Linked DNA regions of Homo sapiens: regions 1, 2 and 3 are each linked to region 4. The links are contacts of gene promoters, found by promoter capture Hi-C in blood cells and fetal thymus (Javierre and others, 2016). All regions are on one chromosome and are shown on one strand. Each heading gives the region's core, a stretch centred on a gene start or on the middle of the fragment in contact. The rest is flanking DNA. Distances are from core to core; before and after follow the strand shown.

Region 1 (6,597 bases), core at 1,580-4,079, 1.7 Mb after region 4:
TACTCTCTAAATATTACATTGTTACTTTCAACAAAAAGGAACCAGATTATAACAAAATTGTTATAAAATAGCTTAAAAGTGTAATAGAACTTCATTAAAGAAAACATTAAGATGAATGAGTTTTAACTAGATCTATAACAATTTTATATATGCTAGAGATAAAATTAATATGAGGTTAAATAATTTTCTTTTTTTTTTTTTTTTTTTGAGACAGGATCTCCCTTTGTCGCCCAGGCTGGGGTGCAGTGATGCCAGTGCAACTTCTGCTTACTGGGCTCAAGCAACCCTCCCACCTCAGCCTCTTGAGGAGCTGGGACTACAGGTGCACAACACCACACTCAGCTAATTTTTTAAAAATTTTTTGTAGAGACAAGGTCTCAGTATATTGCCCAGGCTGGTCTCAAACTCTTCGACTCAAGCAGTCCTCCGGCCTTAGCCTCTCAAAGTGCTGAGATTACAAGTGTGAGCCACCACGCCTAGCTGTGGTTAAATAATTGTATACTATAAAAAAGCATAAGATCTTGTGAGTTCCAAAGTGCCTTGGGTATCAAGAGCCAACATTCTATTTCAGAGATTTGAAACTTAATGATCCTTTAATATCTTTGCTGGATGTTGTTAGAATGGTATTTCAAACATTTTCTACAATTTGAATTAAATATTACCTTACTAAATAACGCGAGGCTGGGCAAAAAAAATGTTAAGCATAACTCCAAATATAGCATAACAGTTTAATGCTCTGTTTGTTGCCTTAACAAAAAATGAATGTCTGCAACACATTCACAAACCACCTGGAGATTCAAACTCACAGTGAAAGTGCAATGACATATTGTGCTACTTGACATTAGCTATTACCAAAGACGGTTCAAAAGGAAGAGAACACAGACAATCTTATTAGTATAATTGGAAATGTGCTGATATACCCACCTTACCAAACATCTTCTCTTGCAGTGTATTATATTACCTGAGAAAAGTAACTTACAATCAGTGCTAATATGCTCCTTAACCTGATTTACAAGGGCAACTAGCAATAAACAGAACAAGGCCCGTGAACTACCACACAGGTGACTTCAATTCTGTATATCTGGACTGGATGGGAATACGGGGGCTTACATGTTTGTGGCCTTCTTGGAGTATGGGAATGTCCTGTCCTGCTATAGGACTGCAGTGAGAATTCTGGTTATAAAAAGTCTCCCTTGTAAAATTCACTGTAAATCGAGGACAAAAATCATGAGATTGTTTTGTTATACTTTAAGTTCTAGGGTACATGTGCACAACGTGCAAGTTTGTTACATATGTACGTATACATGCCATGTTGGTGTACTGCACCCATTAACTCGTCATTTACATTAGGTAAAATCATGATATTTTTAAGGACAACAACATGGAAAAATCTTTCTGTTAGCAGCTAGTAGAAGAATTCATTTAGGAGGATAATGGAAGAAATTTTTCGTAACTGCTCAGAGTAAAAAGTAAAACTCAGAGAACCTAGGTTTGAGAATAATGCACACCTACTAATTCAGGACTAGACACATAAATTTGAGAGTTTTTGACATTAAAAGTAGCATTTGAAGTGATGCAACTTATGAATTAGCTCACTGAGGGATTTAGTATAGACAGAGAATACAGGCACCCCAATGTTAAGAGATCACAACTAAAAAAAATTTAGAAACTCCGCAGAACTGAGAACCAGTAACAAAAGAGGAAAACCAGGAAAGTATGTTGTCTGAGAGCCAAATGAATAAAGAGATACAAGGAGAGTCATTCAGGTATGATATTAATAAATGCTAAAAGTAAAGCATTACATTTCTTTCCAAAAATAGCAAATCCTCCAAACTGAAATAGAGAAAAATTGAAAGATATTACTTGGCATTCATTTATCAGTGACAGAGAAAAAACGGAAGTTCTAACAATGTTATCTAATAGAGATGTTTTATTCATTTTCATTACGTATATGCTGTGTATGCTACTCCCGAGCATCATATCTTCCTTTTAACATCCACAAGAAACAAGCTTTCAAAAAGCACAGCAATTCTCTTGGCAGCATTAATTTTAAAGAGAACCTCTTAAGTTGTTTTACCAGCTGAGACTGACTGACTAAACAACCAGTGTCTCCCCTTCAGTCGCCAGTCTTTCCTTAGAAATGCCTGTTTGGCATAACTTTAAGACTCAAGATGGTTTAAGGCGCATCCTGTTTCTTCCAAAAGGGAATGGACAAAACTCAACATTCACGGAGGGCTTAGAGCAAATTAGAACCGTATACTGTGACCTCCTGGAAGGGAGAGGCTCACCTCCTACAAAGTAAATGCTCAATAAATATTTTTGATATAACTCTGGAAGAGCTCCATTTGGGGTCGGGGGTGCACCTACTCCAGGGCACCACCCCCTCCAAAATAGCTGCATTCCCACAGCCCTCATACTCCGCTCAGAAAAGGGACCGGCGAGCTTGCAGGCATCCGCACAGCGGATAAAAGCAAAGCGGGACGGCGCACCAACCGCATTCCGGATCCTAAGGTTAAAAGAAAACCCCTTGCCCTCGGGCCAGGGCTCACCTGTCTCGGGAGTGGGGAAGAAGCGCGACTCCCGGCCGCTTTGGAGTAGGCGTCCCAGCAAAACTCTCGCCTCATCACCAGACACTACCCCGGGCAGAAGGTTCCTAGGCTAGGTCCTCGGACCCGAGAGGGAGCGACACGCTCGCTTGGTCTCTTGGGTCTCCAGGACGCCGCCGCCGCCGCCACAGTTTCCTCAGGTGCTACAAAGCAGCCAGGGTGTGCGTGCGCTCCCGCCTCGTCGCTTAGCAACCTGAGAAGCTGTCCGGTCGTCCCAACTTATCAATTCCCCCGCCCCTCCAGAGTGTCAATCGTTTTTTAAAAGATTTTGTTTCCGGGTCGATCCAGCTTTACGCAGCGGAAGGTCTCTTTACCTCCCACGTTTACCCTCATGGGAGGATGCAGTCTCAGTCACGCGCGTGGGGGTGATGTCGCTAAGGGGTGATTCTCCCCTCCCTAGAGTTACACACGCTATCTCTCCCGCCAATTGCCGGGCTCCATCAGGCAGGTCCTTTCCTCCTGAGCCCAAACCATCCGTTTGTTGTCGTCCTCCAATCACAGGGGCTCATCCTCAGGGACTACTTTGCAATCGGCGCAGAGCGCAGTGAGAAGAGCTTGAAAAAAACCTCTGGTATCGGGAAGTGTAGTTCAACACTTGAAGGAAATGCTTTGGAGATTGCGCCACAACCAGGGCAGCGTAAACTACAGTTCCCAGAGAGCGCCGCGTCGGGAGCGGAGCCTTTTCTCGCTAACACCGCTCGCCCTCTCCGAGTCAGTTCCGCGGTAGAGGTGACCTGACTCTCTGAGGCTCATTTTGCAGTTGTTGAAATTGTCCCCGCAGTTTTCAATCATGGTGAGTGTGGGCCCCGGGTTCCTGCCCACCTCTGGCCCTCGCGCCCTTGAGTGGGGTTTCTTGCACTTTAGGGACTTTTGGGAGGCAGCTGTGCAAGGCACTGTCCTTCGCGCCCTTTGGCAAGCTCGGACTCATCTTCTGGGGATTGCCGCAGTGACCCAGTAATGGGAAGGGATTGATTTCCACCTTGCGGGGTATGGGGCGCTCTTAGGAGGACTCTGGAGAAGTAGTTGTCCTGGGAGAGGAGCGATCTTAATCCTGCTGCATGACGGGAGGACAAAATGCGACGCTGCAGCTATTTTCCAAAGGACGTTACGGTGTTTGATAAGGACGATAAGGTTTGCGATGGGAGGGAAAGGTTGGGTCCTAACCCCTTTTTCTCCTCATTTGCCCACAGTGTTTATAACGGCTTTTGTCACAGGGACCTTGAAAGCAAAAAGCTGGAAAGGTAGTATTTACCAGGTGCTCCAGATTACGATCTGCGTTTGCAGCAGACGTGTTTCCGCCATATCTAATTTCTCAAAATGTTATTTGGAACCCGTTCATTGACCTTTTTTGTAATGCCAGGATATATTGAAGTGACAGCATCACTAACTAAATAACTACTGCAAATATTCTTTATTGAACTGTATATTGTGAATTCCAGAAGCACCTCTCTTAAATGTAACAGAGTAACCATTTTGTCATGGAAGACCTGGGTAACCTGCATCTCCATCGCTTGTCTCTGCTGAAAGAGAGGGGGAGGGGGAGAGTTGGTGAAGGAACTCTGGCGTAGGAATAATCTGCGTACTGCTTGAAGGTGACATTTGTCATCAAACTCAGAGAAATCGCTTCATACTATCAATACAATGGCTTGTATTTATAGTTGCGACTGTTTTTCCTACTTTATCTGCAAAATACTAAAACGGCTGGAGAATGTGGAGAAATGTTTGAATGAATTGGAAATTTCCCAGAACCTGAAAAGACACGTTTTCAAGGCAAGGGCATTACTCTCTCTGCCTGTCTAACGGGGCCAGTGGAGACAGCTACTAATTTCCAGTAGGTGTTAAACCTAGGTTTCCTAAATGTTTTGTCACATAATTAGTCATTTAAATTATGGTTTCGGTAGTTTCTGTCCTAATAACCTTAGCTAGAAAGCAGAGGTACTTATTATCTGATAACCTTGGACTTTTTGCTTTTAGAACTGAATGGGATCTTTTAAAGGTCATCTTGACGAATCTCCCCACTTCAGATCTTAAAATGGAGTTTATCGAGACCCAAAGAGAATGTGATTTGCTCCAAGAGTCTCACACTCTTGCCATTTTTCTATATTGTGTCTTACACTTACCAAGTCTTTCTGAATTTTTATTTTTATAGGGACCACCGCAGTGAGGTCTCGCAGCGGGGGAGAGACAGTGTACTCAACTCCCTGAAAACTTATTTTTACTAGCTGAGATTCCGGATGAAGTTACCAGTTCATACTGCATATACAAACTCAAATATGTTATCAGCATGTAGATTACTTGATAGCTTTATTCCTTGCCATTCAAAATACTGGAATTGTAGAATTAAAAGGGAATTTGGAGATTATATTATCTACTCTTATAATGTAGTCTGGTGAGGTCAGATAATTTTCCCAAGGTCACAGAGATTTTGGGCCCCAGATTCTTAGCTAGTTTCCCTAGCAAGGCCCCACCGTTGGAAGGTCACTGGGGTGCCAGATAACACAGAGACAGAACATGAGGAAGAATTTGTCTGGCAGTTTGCTGGAACTGACAGCAAACTCACACATGACTCAATTTCCCTGCCCCCTCAGGAGGGTGTGTGAATGGACAGAGTTAGAAAAGAGCCTTCTTCTGTAAGCTCATTCAAAGCGGAGGATTCTTTGCTTGTTGTCTGTAGGGAGTGACAGCAAAATAAACTGTATGAAGGAATCTAAATGGTACTGCTTAGTTTTTTGTGTTATAGAAATACATGTAATTTAGAAATATATATAAATTTGAAAGTGAAAAAGAAATATGTGGCTCTGTCTGTGGAATAACAGACACTTAAATTCAATCTTTATAGCTGAGAAGTTAGCACAGAGCCTGCATCTGCAGGAAAGTCATTGGTGCCCTGCTAAGAGCAAAGACGTTCCTTTTTTGGACCTTGGCACACTGCCCAGATATCTGAGCAAAGAATAGTAACCTATGTTCACACTATAACATTGTGAAAGTCAGCAGGACTCTCCCACCCTCCTGCTTTTCAACTGCAATGTTGCAGAAGAGCAGAAAGAACCATACATGGACTTTTCTTTCTCTGTTTCATCTTCAGACATTCAAACACTAAGCCTCATACTACCATTAATAAGATGGAATTACCTACCTGGGAAAGTAATTTCCCCAAAGACACAGAAGAAAACTGCTGAGGTGGAATTAACTGTTCATTAGGTGGCCACAACCCCTTCACTAAGGACTGTGATACTGTGAACATGTTTTTAAGTAGCTACTAAAATTGACTGCATTATTCTAACCATATAGGTGACCTTATGGGAAGTTAAACTTAATAGATAGTGATCTTCACTCTCTTCAGCCCCCCTTTTCTTATCCTAGTTTGCTGTTCATTGAAGTAGTATCTGTTCATACTTTATACCCTAACCTTCCTTCATTCAACAAATACTTTTTGTGGAAATGCAAATCCATATCAAAGACAGACTGTTCTCAAGAGCGCTTCATGGCCTAATACAGAGCAACAGAAATGTAAATAGAAAACCACAGGCTATTAAAGTCTTTAGAGGAAAATTCTGTGATGATATTTATAAATACTCACTACGTACTGTTCTTAGTGCTTTGTGTGTTAACTCTTTTAATCCTTAAAACTACTCTGTTTGTTAGGTAATTGCTATTATTATCTCCATTTTACTATGGGGAAATAATACAGAAAGGTTAAGTAACTTGTCCTAGAGCATGCAGTTAATGAGTTGTGGAGCCAGGACTTGAACACAGAAAGTCTGGCTCCAGAGTCCATCTCTTTAATTACTACTCTCTACTGCTTCTCTAGCCCCCTGTTTTAGAAAATTGGTGTATCCTTTTTGTTTCCTTCACGTGATTCACCAATGGATTCCCTGGCCTAAAATAGTACCAAGTACATGATAGGAACTTAATGATGTTTTGTTTAATGAATGAATTAAATGAGAAAACAGTTCATCAGTGGATTTATAAGGTAATATCATTAGTACTA
Region 2 (6,710 bases), core at 1,204-3,703, 1.0 Mb before region 4:
TCACCATGTTGCCCAGGCTGGTGTTGAACTCCTGACCTCAGGTAATCCACCCGCCTCGGCCTCCCAAAGTTCTGGGATTACAGGTGTGAGCCACCACAGCTGGCATACTGTGTTGTATTGATGAGCTGTCAGAGTTACAATTTTCCAACTTTTAAAACATTTTTTAATAAAAGTCTGCCCTCAATTTATACAATATTTGCATTCCTGGGAAATTCAGTATATATTAAAAACCATACAAAAATATTTTATATCTATATATGAAAGGGAGTTGTGTTCTAACCATATATTATTAAAATAGGCATTTCAACTACATGAAAGTGAATGTTTGATGAGACGTTTGAAGGTCATGAGGATGAGGGACAATTCTTGACTGTGCTCTTTCCTATCTCAAGGACCTGCTGCCTGCTGTTCCCCCAGCTGGAATGTTCTTTCCCTGAATCTCCCTGTGAATGGCCTTTTTTTTTTTTTTTTTTTTTTTCTGAGACGGAGTCTCGCTCTGTCGCCCAGGCTGGAGTGCAAGTGGCATGATCTCGGCTCACCGCAACCTCCGCCTCCCAGGTTCAAGCAATTCTCTACCTCAGCCTCCTGAGTAGCTGGGGTTACAGGCGCCCGCCACCACGCCTGGCTAATTTTTGTATTTTTAGTAGAGACGGGGTTTCACCATCTTGGCCAGACTGGTCTTGAACTCCCAACCTCGTGATCCACTTGCCTCAGCCTCCCAAAGTGCTGGGATTACAGGCATGAGCCACTGCGCCTGGCCGGCTCTTTCTTAAACTGAGGACTCAGCTCAAATGTCACCTCCTCAGAACTTTCCTCTCCCCCAGTCACTTTTCATTTTGAAATTCCTTCAGAGAACTGAAAATGTTTTCCGTCTCTTTGAAATGTATGTACATATTTTAAAAAGCTAAATAAGCCTCTTGCTAGTTTTGCGTCCTCAGAAGGTCTTTCTTGCGGGCCTCGGAGCCATCTCTTGGAAATGTGAACATCAAGGATGGTGCTCCATGTTTCTGTCTCTAGGAGGGTTTAAGCCTTGGCTCTTGGTTCCAAGATAACTTCCCATTATTTTCCTTTGGATAAAGACAATTAATAGGTATGTAATGGATTGTACGTGCCTGACCATATGAAAAGGTGAGATTTCCTTTTTTTTGGTCTTTGCACTCTCTTCAGTGGATTGCCTGTGATGTGCATCATGGTACGTTTTAGTACATATCCAATAATAAAACTGTTTCATTCTTTTGTTGTACATTGCGCATTTCGTGGAAAGAACAGTTTGGGGTTGGCAGGATATTTTAAATTATTTGCCCATATGGGTCCCCCAGTTTTGGGCACTTGTATGGCAGGCTGATATTCCCCATTACCTCTCCGTACTAATTTTAACTAGTAAGGGACAGGGGCAAGGGCATGGAGCTTTGGAGTCAGACAACCCTGGCTTTAAACTGTGCCTTTTATCAGCATTCTGAAGTACTGTATGTTGAAGTAACTTCTCTGAACCCCGAATACTTCATCTATAAAGTTAGGAATAATAAATACGTCATAGATTAAGTATGGACATTATCTGATGCATAGCAGGTACTATTCAAATGAAGGAAACGAAGTTATCCTAGGTCCTTTAATGCACTAAATGTGTGCTCCATTTCCGCCTTTCTTGGCATCTGTGTGAAATCTCAGGATATAGTGTCCACTAAACTTCAGTGCACTGCCTAATGAGACAACGAACTCCAAGTGCGGACCTTTTGAGTTTAAACGGGTTTCAGTAGGTAAAATACGTAAAGTTCACAGTACCCTCGCAATTTAGATGGAGGAAAAAAAATCAGTCGGGGGGGGGGTCCCCGTATGCAAATACAGGAATTACAGAAGAAGACAGGACCCCCGCCGCAGCACCACTTCCCCCTACAGGGCGCAACGTCCCGCCGCTGGCGCGGGGGTGGAGATTTGCATGTGCGAAGTCGGGAAGAGGGGGAACCACCTCTCGAAAACCCCGGCCGTCGCCCTCCCAGGCCGGGAGAGTCGGCCCCGCGCGCCCCCAAAAGCTCCCCAGCGGCCGGCCCTCTCTACGTCATCCGCACCCTCCCGCCCGCTCCTGAACTTTAAACCACACTCGGAAGAACAACCTGGAGGAGGGGGATTTCTCAGGAGCCAGCGGCCTTCTCACGCTGCTAGCCGTCACCTCCCGGCTCCCGCCGTTCCCTGCGCTCCCGAAGCCCACCCCAAGCTCCCGCTCCCTCGACCCCCTCCCAAGCCAGCCGCCGCAGCAGCGCCGGGGGCGTATGCGTGGGGGCCGGCGGGGAGCGTGCGCGGGGACAGGCAGGGGCGGGGCGCTGGGGGCGGTCGCGCGCGCGGCGGCCGCGAGGTCGCCCCGCCCACGCCTCCGGGTGAGGGTTGCTGCGTCGGGCCTACGTCAGCCGCGGGAAATTCCCCTCCCGCCAGGCTGCTCGCCTCTCGGCTGGGCCAGCACTCGGCTCTCCCCGCTCCGCCCCCTGCCCCTGGCTCCCGTACGGTGGACGGCGACGCTGGGTGACCCGGGGTGCAAGAATTCAGGGGTTGGGAAGGTGTGAGCCGCAAACCCAGCGGAGGGCGGGAAGAAGGAGGAGGCCTCTAGGGTGGTCGGGGGACTGGGGGCCCCGCCGGCAGAGGTCCCTCGGCCTCCTGACTGACTGACTGCGGCCGCCTCCGGCCAGGACGCTGGGAGCTGCCTGCGGGAAGGTGCGGGGAGCGGAGCCATGGCCTCCGGTGAGTGTTCATGGGGCGCGGGCCTGGGCCGGGGGAAAGGAGCTCTTCTGAAGGGGGTCCTGCCGCAGTGAGTTTAGGGAGCTCAGTTTTTGCTGGGGCGCGTTCTGTCTTTAAAATCTCATATGGTAAAATTGTCAGCTTTTAAAAAAGTTACCTGCTTCAGGGTTTGCGTGCAGAATCCAAGCCACGCTCTGTAATTCGATCCTGTTGTCATAGCAGGAACCTTAGAAATTCCCAACGACTTGATTTTAGGATTAGGGAAGTCATAAGCGAACCAAAGGAGGACGAAGAGTTCTCATTAAAAATGTATATGTATTGAAGATGGTGGTTTTATGTTTTAGAACAGGAATGAGGAACCTTCAGACCTCGGGCAAGCTCTCTCCCCCTTTTTAGTTTAATTTCATCAAATGCAAAGAGGTGATCCCCCTTGTACTGACAGTTGTACAAAATGTGTCACGGCTTTAAAAATCATCCGTGGTATTTTAACACGAATTAGAAAATCCGTGGTATTTTAAGTGTTAATGTTGCTTCGACCAAGTGTAGGCCGGGCGCGGTGGCTCATGCCTGTATTCCCAGCACTTTGGGAGGCCGAGGCGGGTGGATAACCAGAGGTCAGGAGTTTGAGACCAGCCTGGCAAACATGGTGAAACCCCGTCTCTACTAAAAATACAAAAATCAGCGGGGCGTGGTGGCGCGCGCCTGTAATCCCAGCTACTCGGGAAGCTGAGGCAGGAGAATCGCTTGAACCTGGGAGGTGGAGGTTGCAGTGAGCCGAGATCGCGCCCCTGCACTCCAGCCTGGGCGACAGAGGGAGACCCTGTCTCTATTTAAAAAAAAAAAAAATGTAGTTTTTACTGTGAGATAAAGCTCAAGGTTCCTAATCTGACGAATAGAGACGTTGAATCCCCCTTCCTCCTCGCTGGAAATAAGGGGAAAGAGGAGTTTTAGAATATCCGAGCTTTAAAATAATGAGTAGGAATGAATACAACTTTATCACTTATGTGACTATATATTTTCCCTTAATAAATGCTCGATCTCTCCCTTTGGGGGGGAATAAGTTTGTAAGAAACATTGCAGAGCAAGAAAGTCTCCTATATACACAGATGTGGTTGGGGCTGCCTGGAGCTTAAGGTTGAGGGGGACGGGAGAGCCGGGGCGGGGGGATAAATCAAGTAGCCTGGGGTCGAGTTGGTCTTTTACCAGGATTTTGGCAAGGTGAGTGGGGGACACTTTCCAGACAGAGGAAGCAGCGTGAGCAAAGGCAGGGAGGGCTAAATGCATGTTAAATGCTGTACTAAGAGAATGAAGAGGGGGCCCCGTTTATGAACTTGACTCTTATCCCCAAACTGCCTGGTCCAGTGACCCTCAGAAGTAGGCTGATGTCTAGTAGAGATGAGGAAGTAGGAAGCTTAAAGAACCTTTTTAAAAGGTTGAGCAGAACAATGCCATAGCTATTGCTGTAGGCAGAAAAGGAAATTGGGGTGTTTCACATGACATTTGATTTCAGTTTGTTTGTGGTTGTGAGAATACTAAGTGTAGTTTAAAATATTTCAACTTTCCCTTTTCCCACTTAAGTGACACCAGACTTTCAGATAATCGTGTAAATTTATGAATTCAAAGCATGTGTAGATTAGAAGTGCTAAGATGACTTCAAATATTTTGTTAATGTATTGGTTATCAGAAAGATTTTGTTTGGAAGTAATGGAGAATGCCTAGCATTATAAGTAAGTTCAGGCTCTTGGCGATTTAATCAAACTTTATTGATATATTGCATGAATTTAATACTTCTAATTTTTTCAGTTGAGAGAGGAAACAACCATTTCTATATAGAGTATTGTAAGACCCACAGGATTTTAAAATTTGATACAATTTAAATTTGTTCATTGACACTGTATTTTGTGCTGTTGTGAGGAGGAAGGATTCCCTAAAAGTAAGGAGGAAATGTTTAAAGAAATGGAAAGTTTTAAAGGTTTAGAAGTTGAAGGGTGATTAACTTTTTTTTTTTTTTTTTTGGTCTTTTCTAAGAGTTGCATTAAAATGGGACTATTTAAAATGTAACAAGTTATTTAAATTGTAATTCAGTTGTTAGAAAACTGCCAGGCCTGGAATAAAAAAAAAAAAATGTTTACAGGAATCTGTGTACTTTTCCTTAATCTGTTATAAAGACCTTAGAGAAAGAAAAAGATTCACTAATAAAATTCTAAATTCCTATTCTGTTTTGAAACAGTAATTTAACCGGAAGAGTGACCAAAAAAAAAAAAAAAAAGAAATTGCTTAGTTTTTCATTGTCTAGTTTAGATTCTGTTTGTAGTAAGGTAGTATTAAAACCTCAGAAAGTAACTTTTATTCATTACGAAGTATTTAAGAGCATTTCTTCATTTCTTACCAGATGTCATATGTAAATAGGTATATGTAGTTGAATATGTGATAGCTATAATGTAAAAGTAACATAAATCATAATCTTATAAGCAAAATTATGTAAGTTAGAATGTAGTTTAAAATCATGTATATAATATGATTCTAAATTTTGTTTAGATAAGTTAGCAGATTAATTAGGATTTCACAGCTTGTATTAAGCTGCCTTTCGTTGCTTTTTAAAAAAATTACACCTTGATCACAGTCTTTTGACATAATTAATAATAGATATAGTGAAGAAAAATGTTCCCAAACCCATCTAAGGTATGCATAGTAGGCAGTTGTTGCTTTTGTATATTTATTCTATTTAATATAAGTAAAATTAGATATTTTATGTCTGAATTTAAACCTTCTCATTGTTCCAGTAAAAAGAGCAAAATGTCTTTGTGTGGCATATAGCTCTGTTAACTAATAATTAGTGCTGTCTTTGGTAAAATGTTTTAAAATTTAGATAATTTATTTTTCTTCACATTTTTCTTAGTATGGTTCTTCTGTGTCACACAATAGGAAGGAAGTACAGAAATGAATTGTTTTTGTAAACCTCACTTCTTACCAACTATTTGTAGTGTGAATTTCAAGAGAATTGTTGTTTTTCTCGATTAAAGGGGAGAAATGGAAGTAAGTGTGAGGCAACTTAATCTTTAATAACAGAGCTGGAAGTTAGGAATGGATAGCTACAGTAAATGACTTCTTTTTTTAAGTAAAATGCCACACATGAGCATGAATGTTTCAGAAATGCAACACATGAAAAAATAGAAATAACAATGGAGTTAAATAATTAAGGTGACGTATGATAGGCACAGATAAAGGGAATGAGTTAATGTAATGACTAGGGAGGAGCCAGACAATGAATCATAATTAGGAACATCTAGGTTATGCATAGTATCTTTCTCAAATACAATTTAAGGGACTCAGAATTTCATTTTGTTCCAACTTTCTCTCATATGGGTTCTCTGAAAATGATTTTGTTTGTAGGCACATGACCCAAATATTGCATGGGATAAAATTGTTTTTCTGAAATTCATATTTATCTGGGCCTCCTCTGTTTTTATTTTTAAAACAGAGGTGATTTGGTCTTGCCATTTGTTTTTAACTTTAATACCTGTATAATCTAGGACAGCTTTTAAAATTTATTTATTTTACCCTGGCACGTGCAAGAGTTTTTTCAAGACTTACCTTTTTTCCCCCTTGGTAACAGAATCCCTATTGCCAGAATCTTTTACAGTTTTTACCTTGTAGTGCATAAATCAGTTGAATACTCATCTGAAAATTTCCTTTCTTTGATTCTTAAGGCCCAGTTGAAAGTCAGCCTGATGTATTGGAGTAATAAAGTCAGCCTGATATATTGGCATAGCCTTTGGCTGATGAGAGACCTAGTTTGAGGAAAAAAATAATAGATCTTATTTTCTTTTTCTCCAAATTGAGTAGAGGTGATATTTGGAAAAATATATATTGTTAGCTCCATTGGCTCCTTTAGGTCTCAGGCAAAGTCTGTCACCGAGGACCTTTATGAGAGACATGCAGTCTAGTCAGCTATTCTCAACTGTGGTGTTGACACACTGGTG
Region 3 (6,294 bases), core at 1,960-4,459, 1.9 Mb after region 4:
AACATGACAATCTAAAGACAACAAAAAGGATTTTAGATGAGAATGACTAAATTGAATTTCCACTATAAGAATGAACTATAGTATGGTCAGTTTACTAAGCAATGAACTTAATTAGGAATATATACACCTTGCTTGGCCTCAAATTCTCTTTAGAATAAGAAAGAATATAAATTATAAATAAATATATGAACATGTGTAAGTGTATGCCAACATACACACACACACACACACACAAATTTCAAATAATTATCAATGTGGTTTTATCACTGTTTTATTCCTTCTCACTAGGAAACTGGTAAAACCTTCAGCCTAACATAGCTTAAGCAAAGGTCTATCTGTATTCTTTTTTCTTTCATTATCCTATTACTCCATTTGTGACTTTATCTGGTCTCCATTCCATGCTGGTCTGTGTTAGAAAGACTTACATATCAAACAGCTGAACGTCTCTCAGTCTGTCTGTGATGCTCCAAATCCAGACAGCAGTCTTCAATAAATTTCTATTACCCAAATAGTCTGTTTTTAATTTGTTGCTGTACAGATCCATGCAAAGCTAGAACTTCAGTAAGTTGCTGACCTCTTAACATTTTCTTTGTAAACTCTTGTTGTAAGTCACTGATAATTGAGAATGGCCTCTGTCTTTCTCCTAGTACTGCTCTCTGCTCCAAATTCTCATTTTTTTTTTAATATGCTGCTCAGCAGTTGTGAGAGAGGTAATATAGACCAGAATTTTCTAATTATATGTTTTGAATGACTTAACGCTGTGAAGCATATTGATTCTTTCAGGCCTGGGGCACGCAAGTTGGGAGCCCCTGGCCTGGTTGCAGTCCAGCTGCTAGCAGCATTTACCAGAGCTTCCTGGAAGGTGGCCAAGAGGAGCAGCATCTCTACAGGTAGAGTGGATGATAAAAAAACATCTAATAATTCCACAGGCCTCTTATCCAAGGTGAAGAGTGGTATGTTCAGTAGCTGGTTCCTGAAGTAGATGTCCAGATAATGGAACACCTACCTCCTTGGCTGTGCTCAGCACATTGCAGCCAACATGGAGCTCCTGGATGGTGCAGCTCTGGTGGCTCTGAAACTCTGATTTCGTAGACATCGGATATTTTTCGTTAGCAGCTGAAGTGCCCTTTTTGTGGCATCCAAAGTAGTTTTGGTCTGACTGATCCAACAATGCATGCATGTTTTATAAATTAAAGCTTCATCATTATTTTAAAGTACTTTCTAGAAAAAAGTACTGCTATTCATTATTGGCATTTTGGTACTATCTGGATTTTTTTTTTAAGCTGTGTATTCTTACTGAAATTTAAAAAAAAAATTGAAGTGCAATTTAAAATGGCACCAGAAGCCAGGCGTCATGGCTCAAACTTGTAATCCCAGCACTTTGGGAGGCCGAGGTGGGCGGATCACTTGAGGTCAGGAGTTTGAGACCAGCCTGGCCAACATGGTGAAACCCTGTCTCTACCAAAAAAAATACAAAAATTAGCCAGGTGAGGTGGCAGGCCCCTGTAATCCCAGCTACTTGGGAGACTGAGGCAGGAGAATTGCTTGAACCTGGGAGGCAGAGGTTGCAGTGAGCAGAGACTGCACCACTTCACTCCAGCCTGGGTGACAGAGCGAGACTCCATCTCAAAAAAAAAAAAAAAAAAAAAAAGAAGAAAACAGTATTACTAGAGAACTTCAGTCATTAAGAGATTACTTGTCCCGGATAAAGGCCTGACCATTTGCACTCCTTTCTGTTTTGATGGAGAGGGGTAGCAAATCAACCTCCAGAAACCGAAGGGAGAAAATTTTCCTCCCTGTGGGTTTTTGGAGTCAGATAGCTTCAGTTCAGATCCTGGTTCTGTCACATAGTAGCTATGTGATCTAAAAAAAAAAATTAAATAAAAAAAATAATAAAATGGCACCAGAACTTAACATTAGTATTTCATATTTTTTCCTGTAGTTTTTTCTCTAAATATGACATACCTCCTCTTTTTCATTAGAGAGAAAAAGTAGTTACCTTTTATTCTCTAATCATATTATCCATCTAATGACATAGAATTATTCAATTATTTAATCTTCACCCAAAAAGCAGTCCTGAGAATCTTCTCTTTATTTTATTTTTATTTTTTGAGACAAAGTCTTGTTCTGTAGCCCAGGCTGGAGTGCAGTGGCGTGACCTCAGCTCACTGCAAACTCCGCCTCCCATGTTCAAGTGAGTTTTGTGCCTTAGCCTCCCAAGTAGCTAGGATTACAGGCGCCTGCCACCAAGCCCAGCTAATTTTTGTATTTTAGTAGAGAAGGGGGTTTAATCACGTTGGCCAGGCTGCTCTCAAACTCCTGACCTCAGATGATCCACCAGCTTTGGCCTCCCAAAGTGCTGGAATTACAGCTGTGAGCCATTGCACCCAGCTGAGAATCTTCTCTTTAATATTTCGTTAGGTTGGTGGGTGTGAAATGCTTAAAATACATTCCCTGAGACTAAGTTAGGAAACAGAAGTTCTTTATCCTTTCCTTTCCAGTGGTGGCACTAGCAGGAAATTTAATAAACTAGACCAGAGGCAGAGATGTTTAGAAAACCATCAAAAGTCATTTGATGGAATGCACAACAGGGAATCTTTCATATAGTTGAAAGAGGCAGAAAAAATAGAATTAAACTGAATGCTTTTCTCTTTCACAACTCTTCTCTGTGAGGATTTGAAAGTCAATAAGTAACCTGAACTTCTATACATATATCACTACAGTAAATCAAAATAATATTTATTCTATGAGTTTGGTAAAAGATGGTTTCTTATTAGTTTTTTTATCTTTTCAAATTATAATCACATAACAATCTACGCTTGTTAAAAACCCTGAGAGAATATAGGGAGTTTATTTATGTTTTTTCCTGGGCCATTCACTAAAGGGAATGGCTCTATTGCCTCTATCATCAAAGGGGCGGACACAATTTGGAGATACAGTTTTGCACATGAGAGAAATACAACAACCTCATGGGTGTCACCATTTCTCACCAACACTCTCCTCTGGGGAACATGCAGAACAGACTAAACAGAAAACAAAATAGTAAGGACCTGCTTCCTTCAACTTTCAAAGGAGAATCTAGAGGGGAATTATTGATAAACATGAACAAGATAATGTATGTTTTGATTAAACATGCTTGGGAGCCTAATGACTTTTAAAACCACTTAGAAGATTGGTTTATGAACCTTTAATTAACTATCCATAATGTGAACTAACTTCATTTTTTAAAGCATCTCAGTTATTTGAAATAATTGCTACTGCTCTGATGTAAAAGTTATATAACTCTCAAATATAACTTAAAAATCATACTGTGAACAAATGGAAGGATATGTCATAATTTAAATTCACAACTTGTTTCAGCAAACTTCCTGGTTCATTAACAGGGTGTTGGCAACAGGAAAGAATGAAGTCTTTCTCTTCCTCAAGTATTTGGAAACCCATTCATTTTTAGACAACTCATTCATTAGTAGTCCATCTCATAGATATAATTTGATATCTTTTTCCAGTTAAGCCCGTTTGGTTACCTTTTTACTCAAGTGAAATGCCCTATTGTTAGATGTAGTCAGTTACTGGCAACTGCTGACTGAGTAACAGTAGCCCCTTTTTCCTCTCTCATGTGGGTGGCCTAGGATTTAGATGGGTACAGATGGGAGCCAATATTGAGTATGGGCAACAGTCCAGTGGATAACTGTTGCCTGGTCTCTTGGCTAAACACTTTGGGCATGACACAGAAATTTTTATGTCTAGTACATGTTCGCTCAAACTACACTGCTTTATTTTCTTGAATGTAGAGGATAGGCAAGAAAAAATAAAGGACCACACACATTGATGATCTGTATACTTATTTCATACCTTTAACAATTCCTACACCACTCCTTATTAGATAATGCTCATGGGTAGTTAACACAGCTTATTGTAAAGTCATCAGGGCATTTGCTGCTATTATTCTTATAATTTGGCCCAGGTTCATCTCCTAGGTGGAAATAACTGAAACTTAAAAAACGTTATCTCTAAATATAAACTTTTTATGTTTTATATGGCTCTCAAAGAGCAGAGAGTAGGGGCGGGCCTGTGGCTTACGCCTGTAATTCCAGCACTTGAGGAGTCTGAGGCAGGAGGATTACCTGAGGTCAGGAGTTTGAGACAAGCCTGGCCAACACGCCGAAACCCTGTCTCTACTAAAAATACAAAAACTAGCCAGGTGGGGACCTGTAATCCTGGCTACTCAGGAGGCTGAGGCAGGAGAATCCAGCTACTCAGGAGGTGGAGGTTGCATTGAGCCGAGATCGCACCACTGCACTCCAGCCTGGGTGACAGAGCGAAACTCTATCTCAAAGAAAAAAAAAAAGAGTGGAGAGTAGGATACAACACTGTGAGTTAAAATGATTTAGTGGCACTAAACTGGTCATTCAATATATACTTATGGAATGTTCGCTATGTACCAGACACTGTGCCAAGCATTAAATCTAAAAAGGCACCAAAAAAGATGCTTAGAAATAGGACCACAGACATGGTTTCCTTGCTGTTGATAGAGAGCTCCTGTCTAAAGCAAAGGAAAAAGATATGGTGAGGTTGTTATACATCCTAGGATATGGGACTGGGTAAACCAAACTGAGTTTCCTCAAGTTTCTATGGGAAAGTAGAAAGAAGGAAGAAATTATAGGCAGAATTTGTATCATCCGTGGATGGTCGCATATGGAACCAGACAAAAACTGGCTTCCAGGCTTTCTTTCTAATTCACAATCCATTTCACTCCAGCTCCTTAACCCTGTACACACTCTTATCAGCCCCCATCTTCATTCTTTGGATCCCCCCACCCCAGGTTTCTGCAAAGGTAAAATCTATAAATCTACCGATGTTACAGATTTCTAATGATACAGATTATCAACATCATGCACCTTGAAGGGATATTCCAGAGTAGTATCTTATGAAAAAAAGGATTAAAGATACACATACTTGCCCAGAGAAAGCAATTTTTCAATGACTGAAATATATAAAGGGAAATAGGTAACTGCTTTCTAAGCATGTCTTTGCTCCATGGCCATTAAGAACTCCACCTCTTTCTTTCCTATCTCCACAGGATTTGTCAAGTGAGGTTGTTCTTAGTGGCTCTGAGAGAGTGGGAAGCTCGCTTACAAAGTGTTTGTGGGTTCAAAATTTAAATTTATACCGATGTATAAAGAAATTTCATTTTATAAGTACTGTTTGGAAATATTTGGAAACTAAGCTTCTAGAGTGCTACTTCTCTAAGAACTAGTGACTGAGTAGTTACAGATGTAGCCCCTGAAGATGGGTAGTTAGTTACTTTTTGGAGAGTTCTTGAGGCAGCAAGTGTACAACAACCTTTGGTACTATATCTCAATATTCAATCACTCATAAATCAAGATGCCATTCTTAGATATTAACAAATGCTCTTGCTGCAATTAAAACCCATTTCCTTTTTAATCTTCCATGAAGGCAGAAAATACAGTAACTGATCATCGTTTCTTATAATAAACCTTGTATAATTAAAAACTCGCCAGGCGCGGTGGCTCACGCCTGTAATCCCAGCACTTTGGGAGGCTGAGGCAGGCGGATCACAAGGTCAGGGGTTTGAGACCAGCCTGGCCAACATGGCGAAACCCCGCCTCTACTAAAAATACAAACATTAGCCAGGTGCGGTGGCACGAGCCTGCGGCCCCAGCTACTCGAGAGGCTAAGGCAGGAGAATCGCTTGAACCCGGGAGGCGGAGGTTGCAGTGAGCCTAGACTGTGCCATTGCACTCCAGCCTGGGCGACAGAGCAAGACTCCGTCTCAAAACAAAAACAAAAACAAAACAACAACAACAAATAAATCTCTTCATTGTCCTTCATCTTTTGCAGGCTAAGTAACCCTACGTGGCCCAAATCTTTCGGTAGTATTTTATTTTGGTACTAATGCTCATTGGTAAAGACTGCTTTTTCAGTGCTGGAACAATTTTTGTACTGTATACAAAGGATGTAGAGATTTTGTTAAGATCTTCAGTCTCCAAATGCTGTTATTAAACTGTAGACATCTGGATTTTAGACACTTGTTTTGTCTGGGGAAAATTCGTTTTACGGCCGAGAGGTTTTTGAGTGTAATCTTTTTGGATTTCATGTAAGAAACACAGTACCAATGGTTGTCATTCTCTAGTATAACAATTTTTCACTAGCCTTTTCTGTGTTGTTTGTTCTAATAACATTTCCATATAAAGACGTAGAACCAAAAAATCAAAGTTCCTTTGTTTAGACAATGAGTCATTAAAAAATTCTCACTTTACCTTGGTTGATTAG
Region 4 (6,256 bases), core at 904-3,403:
CTCTGGGGCCGGGTGCGGTGGCTCACGCCTGTAATCCCAGCGCTTTGCGAAGCCAAGGCAGGCCGTCACTTGAGGCCAGGAGTTTAAGACATAACGGGTCATCTTCACAGATAACTTAGGTGGCCTTTCCTTCCCACATGCACACCCTCCTCTGTTGTTTCAGTTCTTTGTCTGCTTTTGTTTCAAAGGTTGCTAAATTTCCCACTTATTTTGTTTGTTGAATATCAACCATATTATAAACTCTCTTGGCCCCCAAATTTATCTTTTTTTTTTTTTGAGACGGAGTTTCGCTCGTCACCCTGGCTGGAGTGCAATGGCGCGACGTCAGTTCACGGCAACCTCCGCCTCCCAGGTTCAAGCTATTCCCCTGCCTCAGCCTCCCGAGTAGCTGGGACTACAGGCCTACGCCAACACACCCACCTAATTTTGTATTTTTAGTAGAGACGGGGTTTCTCCATGTTGGTCAGGCTGGTCTTGAACTCCTGACCTCATGTGATCCGCCAGCCTCAGCCTCCCAAATTGCTGGGATTACAGACGTGAGCCACCCTGCCCGACCCAAAATTTATCTTTCAACATTCTGTTCCTAATCTAATAAATGTAAGCTTCAACTATGGTCCCTAGACAATTATCCTACAAACCTTCGTTTCCAGGTGTATTATCTCCTAAACTTACAAATGACTCCTAAATCTGGCCATTCTGACCTTTCCAACTCATTAGGACAAGTTAGAAACTATTACTTTTTCTTACATCCAGCGTTACCTATCTTAGCGCCATCACATTCCCAGTTACTTGGGCTGATGACTGCAAACACATGTAAGGTGTACTTTATATACGTGGGTCTTTATATGCTTTCTCACTGAATCCTCACAGCAAGCCTACACGATGGCTAAAAAGAAATGATCCCATAGCTGGGGGAGATTAAGCCAAATACTTTCCAGGACACCAGGCCTTTAACATCTGCCCCAACCTAGCTTTCTAATCTCACCTCTTCTGTAAACATACTACTATTCTCCAACCCAAAAGAACTACTATACTCAATATACACTCGGGCAAGATCTCTAAACCTCTGTCCTGACTTTTCCTTCCAGATTTTTCTATTTCAACTCGATTTCTCTTAATCTTAACTCTAAAAAGCAAACATTTTCCTCCAATTTTATAAGTGAATCTTTGGCACAGAGGTTACAGGTCACTAAGACATGAAGTAACGGAAGCAGAGAATGAAACTCTGGTCTTCCTGATTTCCAACGTGTGCCACACACTTCCACAAAAAAAACAAATAATTGTTTCTTGATTTGCCTATGTTTCACTGCACATGCGGAGACGACATCAACGTAACTTTTCCGCAACTATTTCAAACACGACACGTAAGTCGGTTCCCACATCCATCCCAGTACAATGGGCCCCGCCCCAATTTAGACTCGGAGAGTTCACCCAATTCGTCTCAACAGTTGTGCCAAGTGAAGTTTATTTAATAGTTCTTTAAATAAGAATAACAAAGCTGAAAGATACTGTGCATTCTACCAGTTCCAATAAGCAATAAGCGACAGCCCTCAAGCGTCAGATCCCTAGTGAAGACTGCATGCAATCCTCGGCATTTTGAACTGCTTTCGGCTCCAATATGAATGATGCACAGTGCAGGATGAAAAACTAAGGGAGATTAAGATGCAAAATGGGGCAAGTCCAAAGGCCTCCATACTCCGGGTTGGCGATCATCGGCAGAAAAACAGAAATAAGGATCCCTCCACTGGGCTGCTTCTATAGGGAGGACAAGAGAGGATCACCCGAAGAAATGGGAAATGAGCCAAACCCGCTCAAGCCCACGATGAGAGCGCAGAGCACAACCCCGCGGCGCCGCGGGTCAGGCCATGAGAGTGATACCTTTGGCGGCGGAAATGTTGCTGAAGCGGATCTGGGCTGGCTTGTCGCGGTCCTGATAGGCGCCTTTCCCGCGGCCGCCGGCAGCCCCGGCAGTCGCCCCGCTCCGGGGTGCCACATTCTCGGGCATGGCAAACTCCGCTGTGTCTGGGTTGGCTCGGGAAGGACGGATGGACCCGGATTCTGGCCGGCCGCAGTGTAATAACGGTAAGCCCTCACTGCCTTCACGAACCTTCCAGAAAGCGGCGCCGGCGTCGGGAGGAGGCGGAGGCGGAGAAGGGGGCCTTCCTTGCCGCGCGGCGCTGGCGTGACGTAGGAGGCTGTCCGCTGCGCGCCGGGCGAGGAGGATGCGTGCGGTGGGCTCCGGGCTGGCGAGATTGTACGCCCGGGGCGCTGTGGGTGAAGAGCGCCGGGGGAACCTTTACGCGAGGCAGCAATGACAACGCGCGATTTTAAAGGCGAGTGGTGAGGACATCCGCATTTCCTCACTCCACCTTGCACGGCTATGAGGTCCCCTCCTTTTTTTTTTTTTTTTTTTCTTTTTTTGGATACAGTCTCACTCTGTTGCCCAGGCTGGAGTGCAGTGGCGCAAAATCTCGGCTCACTGCAGCCTCCGCCTCCCAGGTTCAAGCGATCCTCCTCAGCCTCCCGAGTAGCTGGGATTACAGGCGTCCGCCACCATGCCCAGCTAATTTTTGTATTTTTAGTAGAGACAGGGTTTCACCATGTTGGCCAGGCCGGTCTCGAACTCCCGACCTCAGGTGATCCACCCGCCTCGGGCTCCCAAAGTGTTGGGATTACAGGCGTCAGCCACGAAGCCCGGCCTTTTTTTTTTTTTTTTTTTTTTTTGACAGAGTCTCGCTCTGTCGTCCAGGCGGGAGTGCAGTGGGGCGATCTTGGCTCACTGCAGCCTCGACCTCCGGGGCCCAAGCGATCCTCCCGCCACAGCCTCCCAACTAGCCAGGACGACAGGTGCCCGCCACCATGCCTAGCGAATTTTTGTATTCGAAACATAGCGAGACTGGGTTTCGCTGTGTTGCCCAGGCTGGTCTGACCTCCCCGGCTCAAAGCGGTCCACCCTCCTCAGCGTTTCAAAGTACTGGGATTACAGGCGTGAGCCACCGCGCCCACCCGGAGGTGCCCTCCTTTAACTCCGGCTGGATCTATCCGCGAGGTGGGGTGGGCGCCGGAATAACTCTCTAAGGGATATGACTGAGTCTGTTTTTGCCCGGCCACATAGACCTGCATTTTATGCAGTTTTGTTCATTTTGAAAGGGAGTCAGAAAAGGGAGATTTGGAATGAGGCGAGGTTAGTTATCTCGTATTGGTTGATACTGGGTGGTGGAGGTTTGACAGACTGCCAAATCAGGTCTGTCTAGTTACCACCGCCCGCTTGTTCTACACTAGTGTCTCCTGCATGACGTAGCCACTGACTCTTAGGGAACGTAAACATTATAATAAAGATCATTTATTTCCGTTATCTGCTAAGCACAGTGCTAAACCTTTACACGTTTTATATCTCGTTTAGTCCTCACAATAATCCTTTACTTAAAAGGTGAGAGAACTGGAGCCCAAAGAAGGAACTGAAGCCCAGGGTAAACGAGTCAGTAGATAGAAGCAGTATTCCAATACAAAGCAAGGACCAGAAGCCATGAGCTAAACTGCTGGTCTCCTATGACCACTATATTTCAGTAGGGAAGTTTATGAAATGAGGTTTGTTGAATGTTCGCTCACAATTATTAAGCACCTGCAAAGTGACAGTTGCGTGTGGTAGGTTCAGAAACAAATGTTCAAAGGTACTTAATCTTGTAATTATGAGGTGGTGGTGGTGTTGTTTGTTTGTTTGTTTTTGTTTGTTTTTGAGACGGAGTTTCACTCTTGTTGCCCAGGCTGGAGCAGTGGCACCATCTCGGCTCACCGCAACCTCCGCCTCCCGGGTTCAAGCGATTCTCCTGCCTCAGCCTCCCCAGTAGCTGGGATTACGGGCATGCACCACCATGCCCGGCTAATTTTGTATTTTTAGTAGAGACGGGGTTTCTCCATGTTGGACAGGGTGGTTTCGAACTCCCGAGCTCAGGTGATAGGCCCGCCTCGGCTTCCCAAAGTGCTAGGATTGCAGGCTTGGCGAGAGCCACCTCGCCAAGTTGTTCTTTAACACACATTTAGCATATTAGCACTAGGGGCCTGGCTCAGTAGCTCACGCCTGTAATCCCAGCACTTTGGGAGGCCGAGGTGGGTGGATCGCTTTAGGTCAGGAGTTTAAGACCAGCCTAGCCAACGTGGCGAAACCCCGTCTCTACTAAAAATCAAAACATTAACCGGGGGTGTAATCCCAGCTACTCGGGAGGCTGAGGCAGGAGAATCCCTTGAAGCCAGGAAGTGGAGGTTGCAGTGAGCCGAGATTGCGCCACTGCACTCCAGCCTGGGTGATAGAGCAAGACTTTGTCTCAAAAAAAAAAAAAAAAAAAAAAGAAGGATATTAGCACTAGGAAATGAAGATCCATAAACCTCTGAGGCCGACTTCTCTTCAGAGGACCAGAATACTCCCAAGTAGCACATAAATTCTATGGTTATTTGTTTAGACAACTGATGTAATATGTTGGAAACAAGTGGGTGATGAGGAAATGCATTAATTTTGGGATGTAAAATACTGGATTTGAGTTTATTAATAGCTCTGCTACTTATTAGCTATGTGACCTAAGGAAGGCCACTTAAATCCTTTGGGTCTCATTTTCCTCATCTGTAAAATAGGAGGGTTGAACTAGATGATCTCTAGGGGCTTACTAAACTACTAGTTCTACCAGTGTAAGGAGTCGATCTGTCAGCCATAAAGGACAGAGCAGAATTTGGAAGATGCCATTATTGGCTTCTTGGGAGAGTCTTAAAGTTTTGAGACATGCTTTAAGTATCTGAAATGTTTCAAGTTACAAACATTTCTTTTTCTGTGAAATTGGAATTATTTTTGTTCGTGGGATTAGGCAGTAAATAAATGTTAAACATCGGCTTTCATCAGAGTGTTAATGTACATTATTTCTCCATTAAAATGGGATTTCAACAAATATTAAAACCTAAACATGGCCGGGCGTGGTGGCTCACACTTGTAATCCCAGCACTTTGGGAGGCCAAGGTGGGTGGATCACAGGAGTTCAAGACCAGCCTGGCCAAGATGGTGAAATCCCATCTCTACTAAAAATACAAAAATTAGCCAGGCGTGGTGTCAGATGCCTGTAATCCCAGCTGTTCGGGAGGCTGAGGCAGGAGAATCACTTGAACTCGGGAGGCAGAGGTTGTAGTGAGCCGAGATCATGCCACTGCACTCCAGCCTGGGCGACAGAGTGAGACTCCATCTCAAAACAAAACAAAAACATAAACACTTGTGTAGAGTACTTTAAGCAAAGCACTGTTGCTAATGAAGGGTAAAAATGTTTTTAAAACTTTCTGATATTTATTTTTTATTTATTTATTTATTTTTGAGATGGAGTCTCGCTCTGTCACCCAGGCTGGAGTGCAGTGGCACAATCTCGGCTCACTGCAAGCTCCGCCTCCCGGGTTCACGCCATTCTCCTGTCTCAGCCTCCTGAGTAGCTGGGACTACAGGCGCCCACCACCAAGCCCGGCTAGTTTTTTGTATTTTTAGTAGAGAGGGGGTTTCACCGTGTTAGCCAGAATGGTCTCGATCTCCTGACCCGGTGATCCGCCTGCCTTGGCCTCCCAAAGTGCTGGGATAAAAGGCATGAGCCACCATGCCCGGCCAGCTTTCCTATATTTAAAAAATACTTTCCAAAACAAAACAAAACCAAACAAACAAAAATACTTTCCTGTCAGATCCAAGCAGACGTAAGGCATATGTGGGAATGTTGGCAATAACAATACAATTTCCTTAATAATTTATGAAATAGGTTTTACAAAACAATAATACTTTGTCAGCCATCCAAATGAAGGTTCTCTTTAGAATGAATAGCCCACGATGTCCTAGACCCTCAATAATAGGACTGAGCCAGGAACTGGTTAAGGTTAGAAAAGAAGAGAGGAGGGGCCAGGTGCGGTGGCTCATGCTGTAATCCCAGCACCTTGGGAGGCGGAGGAGGGTGGATCAGCTGAGGTCAGGGGATTGAGACCATCCTGGCTAACACGGTGAAACCCTGTCTCTACTAAAAATACAAAAAATTAGCCCGGTGTTGTGGCATGCACCTGTATTCCCAGCTACTGGGGAGGCTGAGGCAGGAGGATCGCTTGAACCTGGGAGGTGGAGGTTGCGGTGAGCCGAGATCGTGCCATTTCACTCCAGCCTGGGCAACAAGAGGGAAACTCTGTCTCAAAAAAAAAAAAAAGAAAAGAAAAGAAGAGAGGGCTGTATGTATCTTATCTCTCTTAGGTTTTA

What was found. The method cuts DNA at HindIII sites, captures the fragments that hold promoters and counts their contacts. A CHiCAGO score of 5 or more calls a contact.
Region 1: the fragment with the promoter of WDPCP here is called in contact with the fragment with the promoter of CCT4 in region 4 in 10 of 17 cell types (naive CD8 T cells, non-activated CD4 T cells, total B cells and 7 more); the score reaches 12.7 in naive CD8 T cells.
Region 2: the fragment with the promoter of REL here is called in contact with the fragment with the promoter of CCT4 in region 4 in 3 of 17 cell types (naive CD8 T cells, naive CD4 T cells and total CD4 T cells); the score reaches 7.4 in naive CD8 T cells.
Region 3: a fragment that was not itself captured here is called in contact with the fragment with the promoter of CCT4 in region 4 in 1 of 17 cell types (neutrophils); the score reaches 6.6 in neutrophils.

The regions. Positions count from the first base shown.
Region 1 is chr2:63,585,648-63,592,244 of GRCh38, forward strand. It overlaps WDPCP (WD repeat containing planar cell polarity effector), which reads right to left and starts at 2,830. Exons shown (of 18, transcript NM_015910.7): 1 at 2,550-2,830. The coding sequence starts at 2,624. MDH1 (malate dehydrogenase 1) reads left to right here and starts at 3,316. Exons shown (of 9, transcript NM_005917.4): 1 at 3,316-3,399. The coding sequence starts at 3,397. RefSeq lists enhancers at 1,995-2,515, 3,027-3,346. The HindIII fragment of the contact is 5,833 bases long and covers 2,009-6,597 here.
Region 2 is chr2:60,879,121-60,885,830 of GRCh38, forward strand. REL (REL proto-oncogene, NF-kB subunit) reads left to right here and starts at 2,454. Exons shown (of 10, transcript NM_001291746.2): 1 at 2,454-2,730. The coding sequence starts at 2,721. REL-DT (REL divergent transcript) reads right to left here and starts at 2,194. Exons shown (of 3, transcript NR_033980.1): 1 at 2,112-2,194. RefSeq lists a silencer at 2,049-2,588 and an enhancer at 2,197-2,866. The HindIII fragment of the contact is 7,860 bases long and covers 1-4,136 here.
Region 3 is chr2:63,833,762-63,840,055 of GRCh38, forward strand. It overlaps a transcript of WDPCP not described here. Among named protein-coding and RNA genes, the nearest start is that of UGP2, 5.0 kb to the right of the region's middle. The HindIII fragment of the contact is 4,031 bases long and covers 1,195-5,225 here.
Region 4 is chr2:61,886,503-61,892,758 of GRCh38, forward strand. It overlaps CCT4 (chaperonin containing TCP1 subunit 4), which reads right to left and starts at 2,154. Exons shown (of 14, transcript NM_006430.4): 1 at 1,879-2,154. The coding sequence starts at 2,005. It also overlaps a transcript of COMMD1 not described here. RefSeq lists enhancers at 1,182-1,743, 1,744-2,303, 1,845-1,924, 2,864-3,423. The HindIII fragment of the contact is 8,675 bases long and covers 601-6,256 here.